Linked DNA regions of Homo sapiens: region 1 is linked to region 2. Evidence: promoter capture Hi-C in 16 types of primary human blood cells and fetal thymus (Javierre and others, 2016). All regions are on one chromosome and are shown on one strand. Each heading gives the region's core, a stretch centred on a gene start or on the middle of the fragment in contact. The rest is flanking DNA. Distances are from core to core; before and after follow the strand shown. Region 1 has its middle 9.0 kb from the start of MORF4L2-AS1. Region 2 holds the start of TCEAL8 (transcription elongation factor A like 8).

The links. Contacts are between HindIII fragments. The CHiCAGO score rates a contact against its expected background, and 5 or more counts as called.
Region 1: a contact is called between a fragment that was not itself captured here and the fragment with the promoter of TCEAL8 in region 2, in 1 of 17 cell types (non-activated CD4 T cells). The highest score is 6.2, in non-activated CD4 T cells.

What each region holds. Positions count from the first base shown.
Region 1 is chrX:103,693,225-103,699,380 of GRCh38, reverse strand. No RefSeq gene overlaps it. Among named protein-coding and RNA genes, the nearest start is that of MORF4L2-AS1, 9.0 kb to the right of the region's middle. RefSeq lists enhancers at 842-1,592, 1,593-2,343. The HindIII fragment of the contact is 4,314 bases long and covers 2,598-6,156 here.
Region 2 is chrX:103,252,856-103,258,479 of GRCh38, reverse strand. TCEAL8 (transcription elongation factor A like 8) reads left to right here and starts at 3,325. Exons shown (of 3, transcript NM_153333.3): 1 at 3,325-3,402; 2 at 3,803-3,875; 3 at 4,463-5,485. The coding sequence starts at 4,501. The coding sequence ends at 4,854. RefSeq lists an enhancer at 3,339-3,388. The HindIII fragment of the contact is 6,472 bases long and covers 1-5,223 here.

The sequences.
Region 1 (6,156 bases), core at 3,505-6,004, 440 kb before region 2:
CTCCCTGACTTCATCTTGGTTCAATCTTTGACTCCAGTGTGGTTTCCTATCCTCCACACTATTGCCAATTTGGCCTTTCTAAAACTGTCTATTTATGACACTTCCTTGCTTTGAATCCTTCAACGGCTCCCTATTGCCTCAGGAAAAAGCCCAAGTGGCTTAAGTTGGCCTACCAGAAATTTTCTTCTCTGGCTCCTGCCAGTGACTCCAGCCTCTTCTCTCATCACTCCCCTCACTCCACTAAATGCATCCTTAATTTGGCCTTGCTGATCCACCCACAGATCCCTGAACCCAGCAAGCCGGATCCTGTCTAATGCTCTGTGCCTTTGCACATGCTGTTCCTTAGCCTTTCAACGCCTTCCCTTGACCACCTGAGGTATTCTATTCATCTGTCAAGGCTCTCGCCAGATATCATGTTTTCTGTGAGGCATTCTCAAACTGCTATGACCCTAACATCCAGATAGATTTAGGTTATCTGATAATGCCCTGTACATAGCTCTATATTTGTACTTGTAAGATTAGATACTGTTCTTTTGTCTATTTCCCTCACAGATAAATGAGTTTGAGGTCAGGGATTATAAGGTATTTATCTTTGTATTCCTCATACCAAGCTCATAGCAAGAAATGAATTAGTGTTTACTATATAAGTTTTTAAAAGTCATGAGTACTGTAGTTCAAAAAAATTTTTAACCACCCAATTGCTGTGCTAGTTCTCACTAACTATACTTTCTTTGCAAGGGTCGTGTCATGAAGTACTACACTATCAAGGTAACAAGTATCTTTGTGGTTTTTTTTTCCCCCCTTTTCAAAGCTCTTAAGTGCCATGTCATCCTCAAAGCAAACTTGAGGTAAGATAACCAGGTATCCATGTAACAGGTGAGGAAATGAGGCTGAGAGACCTTAAGGGACTTACCCAAAGTTACCTATTTCTCAGTACAGTACAATAATTTATCTATTTGGCAAAGGATTTTCAAAGTCATTTTCAAGGAGTCCTAGGGTTTCATGGGAAGGGAAGGAAGGACAGGCAGCCATACCCATCCCCCACACATATATACAGACGTTTCAATCTGCATAACTCCACTCTCAGTTTATATACTTGCTTTACCATAATATTTTCTTTGGAGTGAGGAGAGAGGATGAGAAGAGTTTACTGCTTCTTTAAAAAATTTGAAAATCAAAACTGCATCATCTATAACTTTCAATTTAAGCCATTTAACAGGTCAAGGGATGTTTCAGCTGTATTATTTGGCAATATTATAGAAAGATCATTTTTTGAGAATAGGCTAAAGTCAAGGGCTATGATGACAAAGGAATCTAACAATTGGGCATCTTTCTGACTCTAAGCCCCTCTTCAAGTTATCAACCTACAGAAGTCCTGAATACTTGTCACCCTACCTCCCCTTTTACTTACTAACAATGCCTGGCTAATGACCTCAGTCTTATCAGTCCTCAGTTTAATGCTAATCCTTAACTACTTCAGACAATGAGAATCATTGTTACAAAGACAGCCCTGACCATCAGAAGGGCAAGAATGCTTAAGACAATTGGCCACAGCAACACATTTGCTATCCTGACTGCATTTAACTCTCACCAATATGCCCATGCAGAGAAATAAACAGTTGGCTCTTTTAGAAAACAAATGTCTCATGGGATTTCCCATAAGACAACTGGCTCAACAGATAACAATGTCTTAGAATTTTAGAAACTGGCGGCTGAGCACAGTGGCTCACGCCTGTAATCCCAGCACTTTGGAAGGCCGAGGCAGGTGGATCACGAGGTCAGGAGATCGAGACCATCCTGGCTAACACGGTGAAACCCCTTCTCCACTAAAAATACAAAAAATTAGCTGGGCGTGGTGGCGGGCGCCTGTAGTCCCAGGTACTTGGGAGGCTGAGGCAGGAGAATGACATGAACCTGGGAGGCGGAGCTTGCAGTGAGCCAAGATCACGCCACTGCACTCCAGCCTGGGTGACAGAGCGAGACTCCGTCTCAAAAAAAAAAAAAAAAAAAAAAGAATTTTAGAACCTGGCACAGCAGAGCTAGAAGGGCCTTCCCAGATCATTTAGTCTAGTCTGCTCATCAGACAACATGGGGATACTGAGGGCTTGATTGGGCAAAGCTCAGGCCCTCAGTGTAGTCCCCCTTTTTTCTCAACTTAGTTGAAGCTGTGAAAGGAAAGAATAGAACAGGAAGGGAAAGACTAGAGTGTGTCATCATTTATTAGCTCCAGAGGCTCACTTCTGGGATGGCTCTGACTTGTAGACAGCAACAGATTCAAGGCCAAAGGTAATCTGCAAGGGAAAAAACTGTTTCTGTGATGAACATTCAGTTCCCAACCTCTGCCCTGTTCATCTGTTGACGACACTCATATTAGATATTCACAGTCCCCACAGAAACGGGATATAGCAAAAATCTTGGCAACAGTTACAATGATATTACAGGTGTGCAATGGTCATGCCAAGCTCCAAATAGCAGAAATTCAGGATTTCTTTCACCAGGGTTTCTTTGTGAATTTGTTAATCCCTTAGACTTACACTTCTTTTAGTCTTTGCGTAGCAGAAACACAACCTGTTATCATCATTTGATTGGCCTAAGCTTCAGGTTGGTCTATTAAGGAAGGAGACAATATGGTTTCTCGTGAATGTGTTGTTATTCTCCTATGAAATATACTTCACTGATTTTGGAGTTAACCCTTCCTGTCCCATCTCATTAGGATGTCAAATTCCAGGTGTATGAACTGTCTTCACCCAAGGCTACCTAACAGGCAAAAGTAATGAATCATGGAAGTTAATCTCATTTGTCTCCATCTGCTACATATAGTCTCTCTCCCTAACATCCTGGTGGTGGATTCATGTTTAGGGTAAAGGATTCAAGGGGGAAAGAGAGGGTCAAAACTAATGACTATATCTTTAAAGTGTCACTGATACCATGTATGATGTTATTCTTCAGCCAAGAGATATCCAGTTAGGACTTCAGCTACAAAATAGTATCTATTTCTTTCCTTCACCCTTCTTTGGGGGTGGGGGGTGTGAAGGGGTGAACGTGCACTGGCTCTCTGATGTCTTAATTTGCTACCCCCTAATTAGCTGGGAACTGAATCTGAGATGAAAAAACCATACCCTGGCATTAAGGGCTACCTCAGGGTGAGTGGGTGTCCTCTGATTATCTTTGGAAGGTTTCTTGGAGTTGCATTCTTATTTCAGCCCCCCTCAAAGTGCAAGGCAGTGCCTCTATTTTTAATGAGAAATCCAATTCTTTCTCCTGTCATTCCTTGAGTTTTTCCATGCTGCTTCACTCAAGAGGTGCACCTTGGTGGCCTGTTTGCCTTAGTAAGCCCAACCTAATAAGGTTAAGAAATGGCTGATGCCTAACCACCCTTCCGGATATTCACCACCCTGCCATTTAGCCTCCTCACAGAAAGGTAACAGTCTAGTGTAAACGGATATACTTATCCATCCTCTGAGTCTCACTGAGTCCCCAGTTTTACAGATGGTCCTGAAATTGAGGTCTTTTGCAGGCTCCAGTACCCTGAAAAGTCTCCATCACTGAGCCCAGGTAAAGCAAAGCCCTTCACTAGAAATTTGAAGTCACGAAGTGAGTGGTAAGTGTAAGGGGTTCACTCAGTTGTGAGCACCATCGAGGTAAGAAAAAAGTCTCCATCTGTAGCTATGAGCACAGCACTTGGAACAATGGAGGTGGGCAATAAATGCTAGCCCAACGAACAACTACAAATGTGGAAGTAAGTGTATTTGGCCATACTGCCAAATTTCTCTGGTTGGAAGGATCAATGAGTAAGTTTTCTTGTGTTTTTGGAGGAGGCAGTGGTGGGGGAAACAGAAAGGAAGAGAACATGAGTCTACAAGATCATTGGGAGGCCGGGTTTAGGGTAAGCTGAGGTTGGAGTTCTCTGGGTTTTGTTTGATCATTTTTTGCTTTGTTCTGTTTGTTTTGTCAGAAGGCAGGGTTCTCTCATGATTTTTTTTATACCCCTATTTAAAAACTTTTAAAGATTTCCCTTTGCACAGAAGTGTAAGATTAATCCTTCAGTTGGCTACTAATATTGCCTTATCTCCCTTGGATTTATTCACAAATTTTTGTGGAGTGCCTAACACAATATGCCAGGCACTGTGCTAAATACACAGATACATGGTGAGGAAGAAACATAACTCCTGCCCTCAGAGGGCTGACATTCTGGCAGGGGAGACAAACTTAGATAGAGACATTTAAGAAGTGACCAGAAGGAAAAGTAAGATGGAAAGAGGCAAGAAGGACCAGGAAGGCAAAGGAGAAGGAAGATGTTAGAGGTAGGAGAGTTTCCAAGAGGGAAGTGATGTAACAGATTTGCATTTGCAAAAAAACTCCGGCTGCAGAGTGGAGAACAAATTGTAGGGAGACATGAGTAGGTCATCAGGTGAAAATAGTGGTGTCTTAGAAAGGGGAAAGTAATGGGTGCTATGGGAACATAAAGCAAGAGTACTTAATCTGGCCCTGGAGATCAGGGAAGGCCTCCCTGAGGAAGTGACATTTAAGTGAGTTTTGAAGACTGGGTTAGCTGTGGTGAGGAACATGACGGGGTGAAGACTGAAGAGAGTCTGTGTCATACTAACTTTCTGCCTTCGCGAAGGCAGGCCTCATTGTTACTAACAATTTGGTCCTAGCCTGGAATGCCTGGTATCTTTTTTCCCTTGGCCAAATTGTGTCTATCTTTCTATAGCCCTCTCAAACTCCATTTTCTCTGATGATGACCAGATATGACTACTCTCGTTTCTAAACTCTTATTCTATGTCTGTCACTTAGGATTTAAAGTCTTACTATTGGTATTGTGACTTAAGGTTACACGTTTACAAACTTCTTGTAAGTTCCTTGAATTTACGAGCTGTCTTGTATTACTTTGGCATCACCCAGAGTATCTAGCCCAGTGACAGGCACATGAGGTATTCACTGAAAGAATGAATGAATGAATGAGGCACTAGAGTCCCTGCAAGCCTCCTTTGGTAGTTCACTATTATCTGTGAAGCTGACAAGGAAAGGGGTCTGCTTTCCCTATAAGATTTGTACTAAGTACTTGGATGCACAAACCTAAGATCTGAAATTGACAGCTCCTTCCCTCTGGTCACTGATTCTCACCCCCTTGCAATCCTGCCCACCCCTACCCACCACCTTCTATTGTTTCTTCTGTCTTCTGGTTCTCAGCCAGGATGAGAAAATGGTCTAGCTGTCCTCAGAGACTTACGCCAGCCTGGACTGCTCTGCAGTGCCATGAAGGGCCAGGACTTTTGTTTACAGCTGGGAGCATGGTGAGGTGGTGAGCACAGCTGACAGCCCCACTCTGGAGCAAACATCAATCTTCCTCTGTCCTCTCGGCCAAGTTTCACAGACCAGCTCTATTGAAAGCTGGCTGTACCGGCCTGGGTCTCATTGACGTCCTACCCAGAACTCTGGCCTGGAAGCAGCGGGGTGAATCTCGGCTTTGTACCTTTTAGGAACTGCCCTTGCTCCCTTCTCTGTCCCCAGTTTCAAACCATTTTATCTCAACCTCAGGACCTTGAGAGAACATGTGCTCTGATTTCCCCATGCCCTAAACAGTGCCCCACCTCTCCAACCATATCTGCTCACTCCCAGCAGTGTACAAACCCCGTCATTTGCTTAGTTACACAGTGAAAACACAACAAAGAACGAACAAAACCACATAGTTTTCAATGGGTACTCTATGGAACCCGCCTTTCCAAGCAGGTTCAGGTTGGACCTGGAACAGTCAGGTTCCAAGTCCTTGAAAGAGTGTGTGTGTGTGTGTGTGTGTGTGTGTGTGTGTGTGTGTGTGTGTGATCTTTGCCTTCAGGCAGCTTTCCCATTGTTTTATTGTTGTTGTTGTTGATTTTTGTGTATGGTGAGAGACAGGGATCCACCCCACTGTTTTAAAAACTGCAGGTCAGCTGGGCATGATAGCTCACGCCTGTAATCCCAGCACTTTGAGAGGCCAAGGCGGGCAGATCACCTAAGTCAGGAGTTCAAGACCAGCCTGCCCAACATGGCGAAACCCCGTCTCTACTAAAAATACAAAAAGTTAGCTGGGCGTGGTGGCCGGCGCCTGTAATCCCAGCTACTTGGGAGGCTGAGGAAGGAGAATCGCTTGAACCCAGGAGGTGGAGGTTGCAG
Region 2 (5,624 bases), core at 2,076-4,575:
GAACTATCTCTAGTGCTCTCTTGGTGCACAAAAACAGGACATTGATTGGCTCAGAGGCCCAGGGTTTCTACTCTCCAGAATTCATATCCTTATTGTTAAAATTAATGTGTACACCTTTTTCTTTCCTTTTTAAAAAGATAGTTTTTACTTCAGTAGAATGCTATTTTCAAAAATTTACTTATATTTAAAATCTACTCTGATTGACTTAATTTCAAAGGTAGCTGAGTGTTGTATTGACACACTGAAATTGCCCCGGAACAAGGATGAAGGTGAAGGCCTGTATCACCTGGCTCTTTGTCAGGTGTGTACCAGTGAGCTAACTAATCTCTACTGTGAGTATTTAGGAAGACAAGGTCAATAACCTTTGCCAATAGCTCCATAAACATGGTATTAATATTGCTGTGGCTATATGTAAAGCAGAATAAGTAAAGGAGAGTACAATGAAACTTCTGCTTCAATTTTGTGCAAGCAAAATGAAGTTTGTCTGTGAGCCAAATGGCAAACAGCTCTTTCTGAGACCCTGAGATTTCTGAGAGACCCACTGTTTAACATTACTAGAGCCACTAAAGAAGCGTAATAGCTGGAGCCTGATCCTTGCTCCCTACCCTCAACTCACATCTGACCATCTTCCTGGTTAGATACCCTCCACCCCCAACACACACACACACACACACACACACACACACACACACGGAAAGGTACAAGGTAACCTTTGTTAAGGGTTACACGAAGGGTGCAGATTTCATGTGCAGCAATGACAGAGGAGGGAGAGATCACTTCCAGCTTCAGAGGCTGGGTGATTAGGTCTTGACCTCTAAGAATGAGCAGCACCAGGATCTAGGAGGAAGAGGAGGGCAATCAGGAACAAGATAATGACGAACAAGGACAAAGAGAGAAGTATAAGGCATGCTTGGGCACAGTGACTAAGGGTTGTTTATTATTATTAGTTTTTAATTTTTAATTTGATCTCACTGCTTCTGTAGACAATGAAGTAAGGGTTTATTTTGGATGGGGCAGAGAAGGAGATGATGAGGCTAGAAACATGTCCTGAGGTTCAATTCTGATGGAGGCTGAATGTCAAGATAAGGAGTATAGGATTTACTTGGTGAGTGGTGCGGTTACCATCCAGGGTCACTGAGCAGGAGAATGACTGTTGAAAGCAGGGACAAGGTAATGTGTAAGGTGGATTAAAGGGAGAGAGGGAGGCGCTGGAGGCAGGAAGTCCAGAAGTGAAGCAATGGCCTAAATCTGTTCATGAATGTTTACAGCAGTTCTTTTCATAATTGCTTAGAGCTGGGAATAACTCAAATGTCCTTCAGCAGGTGAATGAATAAGCAAACTGTGGAATAGCTAAATAACAGAATACTACTCAGCAAAAAAGAGAATAAACTATTGATACATGCAACAACTCAAATGGATGTCCAGGGCATTATGCTGAGTGAAAGAAGCCAGTCCCAAAAGAAGCCAGTGCACAAAAATTGAAAAATGAAATCATTTACATAATATTCTGAATAAGACAAAAGTGTAGTAATGGGGAATATATTAGTGGTTGCCAGAGTTTAGGGAAGGCAGTCAAATAGGACTACAAGAGACAGCATGCAGGAGTTTCTGGGGGTGATTGAACTGTATTCTGATTGCAGTGGTGGTTAAACAAATCTATACATTGGTTAAACTTCATAGAAGTGTACACACACACAAAGTCCATTTTGCTGCTGATGATTTTTCTTTTAAAAGATCAGAGTTGTTCCTCACTAAATGGTTACATTTAAAAGAGTGGAAACATTTGGTGATAGGCAATGATTAAATCTTTATAATTTGCTAGTTATATTTATATTAAAAGCTCTCTCTCAAACAATAGAACATTTATCCCTCAAGTGTGGAAGAAATTTGTCATGCTTCAACTATAAATCATTAAGTCCAAAAAATATTTATTTTTTCCAAACCTTCTTTTCTCTTCTCTGGTGGGTGTTCTTGTTGGCTAAGGCATCCTGCTGTGACCACCCTAGACAAAAGACCCCCTCTGTCTTCTTCTGACTCTCCAGCTGGCTCCATTGGCCAGAATGCCACTCCAGGCACCACCATCCTTCCAAGTACCAGTGGATTCTGAGTTGCAGGGATATCAGTTTCCTGTTTAATATTATTTTTTACAGCAATGTTGTTCTCTTTGCTTTCTAATCATAACAATTATGCATGTCAATAGTTCTTTTAATGGGACACAGTGGATGATACCAGACTATCTCAAGAGTGCCATGAATGAAAATGCCATGCAAAGAAGCCTCAAGCCTGATGGTGAGATACAGAGAATTCTCTTTTCTGAGTGTTTCATGAGTGTATGAGTTATTTCCCAACAACGAAATGTTTTCCAAGAAACATACTACTTTGAGTTCCAAAAGAATTTTACTCAGTGGAAAGCAGGCTTTTCTGTGGACTTATCTGATTAACAAGATACTGAATCCTATAGAGGAAATGGGGAGGAAGTCTGTCTGAAGCCTCCAAGTGAAACCTTAGTGGATGCCACCAGTGGTCATCAATGAAAAAGATCAGACATCCAACACTTGATAACTTGAGTTCTGCCAGAAATAGAAAGAGTAGTAGATTACCTATACAAAATTGCTAACAAGAGAAAACTAGGCCTCCTTCCACACATTAATTTGGGAGTCAATTTTTTAAGTGCTGTTTGGTAAGATTTTAAAAAATTCTAACACATCAATATGTTGTGAATATTGTCATTTCATTTCCAGCCATTAGAAAACTTTTCCAAAGTCTTACACATTGATATAACTAATTTGTCCTTCATATTAAGTGTTACATATTGCTTATGAGGCATCCGTTTTCTGATACCATTTTTAAAAGTATGCTGATTGCTGAAAACATAGAACACAACAGAAAACTATTCAAGAGGATTAGTCAAATCCTCCACTTTCAACCTTAGATTCTTTTCCAGCCCCCTCTTCCCGATCTACCACCTTTGCCCATTTCAATGCTGGATAGGATTCCAGGGGAAATGGTGGACTGTAGGGGTCTTGGAGGAGGGGAGGTGGGAGTATTGGGAGCAGAAGAAAGAGATGATTCCTCAAAGAAGGAGAAATGGTCGATTACCCCTAAAAGGCTGATCCTCCTGGTAATCTGAGAAAGGCGAATAAATACTCCAGGGCGAAGATAACAGTTTATTGTCTCCGATTGGCAAATACGAAAAAAGATTGACAGTATCAAGTGGAGGGAACGCAGCGGGCGGGCTGCAGTGTTAATGGGAGGGGTAACTGGGGACTCGAGCTCAGTGATGACGCGACTCTCACGTGACCAGGAGTCGACGTGTGCAGAAGTCCTTATAGTCCAGGGCCTGTTTCCCTGTAGCAGCTCCTTATTGCTGGAGAAGGAGAAAAGTGCCCAAGATCCTTTCAGGTTAGTATAAACGTGGGCGCTGACTTGGAGACCCTGGGGTCGAGGAGGCCGAGAGCAGAAAGCAAGCGGGGCCGGCACTGCTTTCCCCACTTCTGTTCCGCCAAACTCCCATTTTGTGCAGGAAATTTGGGGCTGTTTGGTGGGGGATGGCGGGTGGAGAGAGAGAAGGGTAGCTAATTAAGGGTCCTGAGAGAGAGACATAGAAACTGTTTGGAAGAAACTTGCTTTTCCTACTCCCTGCTTGCAGAAAAACGGTGGGCACGGAGGAGGGCGGGGTTGCCATAAAAGGAGGGCGAGGATGAGGACATGGGAAACTTTACACCAACATGGCCTAGAATCATGAAAGGGACCCGTGATCCAGGTACTAGTCTGCTCACCAAACACTCCCATCTGTCTGCAGGATATTTGGTTTTTTGGGCGCGACACAAATCGAGGTGAGGGAAGAGAGAGGAAAATCCCCTGAATCCCTGCAGGTCAGTTTTTGTAAAGGTGCAATTGCTTCAGGTCTCTTCGGGTGGGGGTGGAAGTGTGAGTGACACCAAAGCACATCCTGGGGTCGCAGCAGCCCCTCCCCATCCGGATTAAGTGCCAGAGGCCGGTGCCGAGCCTGCAGCGGAAATGAGGCGGGGGAGGAGGAGGCTTAAGAGACGCTGAAGGGGGAGGGGAGGCCAGAGACTGGACCAGCCGTCTCAGGTGAGAGGCTGGAGGTTGAGAGGGCCTGGGAAAGTCTGAAGGGCGGGAGTGTTGGAGACCAGAGGCGGGAGAAGGGTTAATTGCTTCCGTACTGCTCCCATTTCAGTATTAGGAGAGGCTTGTAGCAGGGCCTGCTGGGAAGATGGTGGGCAGGAGCAGGAGGAGAAAGATGGAGCTGGAACGAAAGGGGGCGCGAAGGGAGGTGGAGTCAGGGGAGTTCTGAGCCTGAGGATCCAGCTTTCTCTAGTTGGAAAACTTTTGACAATTAGGGTACTGAGTCAAAAAAGGCCAGTCGCTATGGGACCCCATACTCTGACTGCTGGTCTGTTTGCCTGGAATCTAGTAGTTTTGTTTCCTTGTTTTCTAGGATTAATTTATTCAAAAAGGAAATAAAAAATACTCAATATGCAAAAGTCTTGTGAAGAAAATGAGGGAAAACCACAGAACATGCCAAAGGCCGAGGAAGATCGCCCTTTGGAGGATGTACCACAGGAGGCAGAAGGAAATCCTCAACCTTCCGAAGAAGGCGTAAGCCAGGAAGCAGAAGGAAACCCCAGAGGAGGGCCGAATCAGCCTGGCCAGGGATTTAAAGAGGACACACCCGTTAGGCATTTGGACCCTGAAGAAATGATAAGAGGAGTAGATGAGCTTGAAAGGCTTAGGGAAGAGATAAGAAGAGTAAGAAACAAGTTTGTGATGATGCATTGGAAGCAAAGACATTCACGCAGCCGTCCTTATCCTGTGTGCTTTAGGCCTTGAATTCATTTTTGCCTAATATTAAAATCTGGCCCCAGCTTTCTTTCTGTTAGCATTTTCTGATGTATCTTTGACCTCCATTTTACTTTTAATCATCTGATGAAATTTTGTTTTAGGTAATTTCCTTGGTACCAGCATCTCATTGGATTTTGGATTTTGACCCATTTTCCAGGTCTATTTTTCAATTGGAAACTTTCACACATTTGCATGGGAATATGTTCATTCCATGTTGTAAAGTAAAACATAACAGGTTATGGCAAAGCAGCATATTTAATATCAGCTCACATATGTAGGATAAAATTCCAAACTTTGTGTGTGTGCGTGTGTGTATACATACATCCATATAACATATATCACAAACTTAACCAAGCTTATTTCTGTGTGGTGTGAAATTTTATTTGTTTTCTTCTTTTTGTTCTTTTTGCTTATATGTACTTTTTAATGAACACGTGTCTCACACACAAAAAGAATTAAGGATTTTTTTTACAAGTAAGAGTCAAATAATTTGCAACCAGCTTATGAGGGCAATGGGGGCACCTAAACTCTTGATGAAAGAACTTTAAAAAGAAATGTAAACCTCAAATTACCTCTGGATCTCTTAGCCAGAGGAATAAACTGGCAATTATTACAGATACACACGTTTAAGACTCAGTCTTTTCATGGGGAAAATATTTGCTTCACAGGGCTGCAGTGGGGAAGAAATGAGGCAGTAACAGCTGTGCTCAGTGAGATCTTGTTCCCACCTGTGCATACGGAATCCCAACCCACTATAG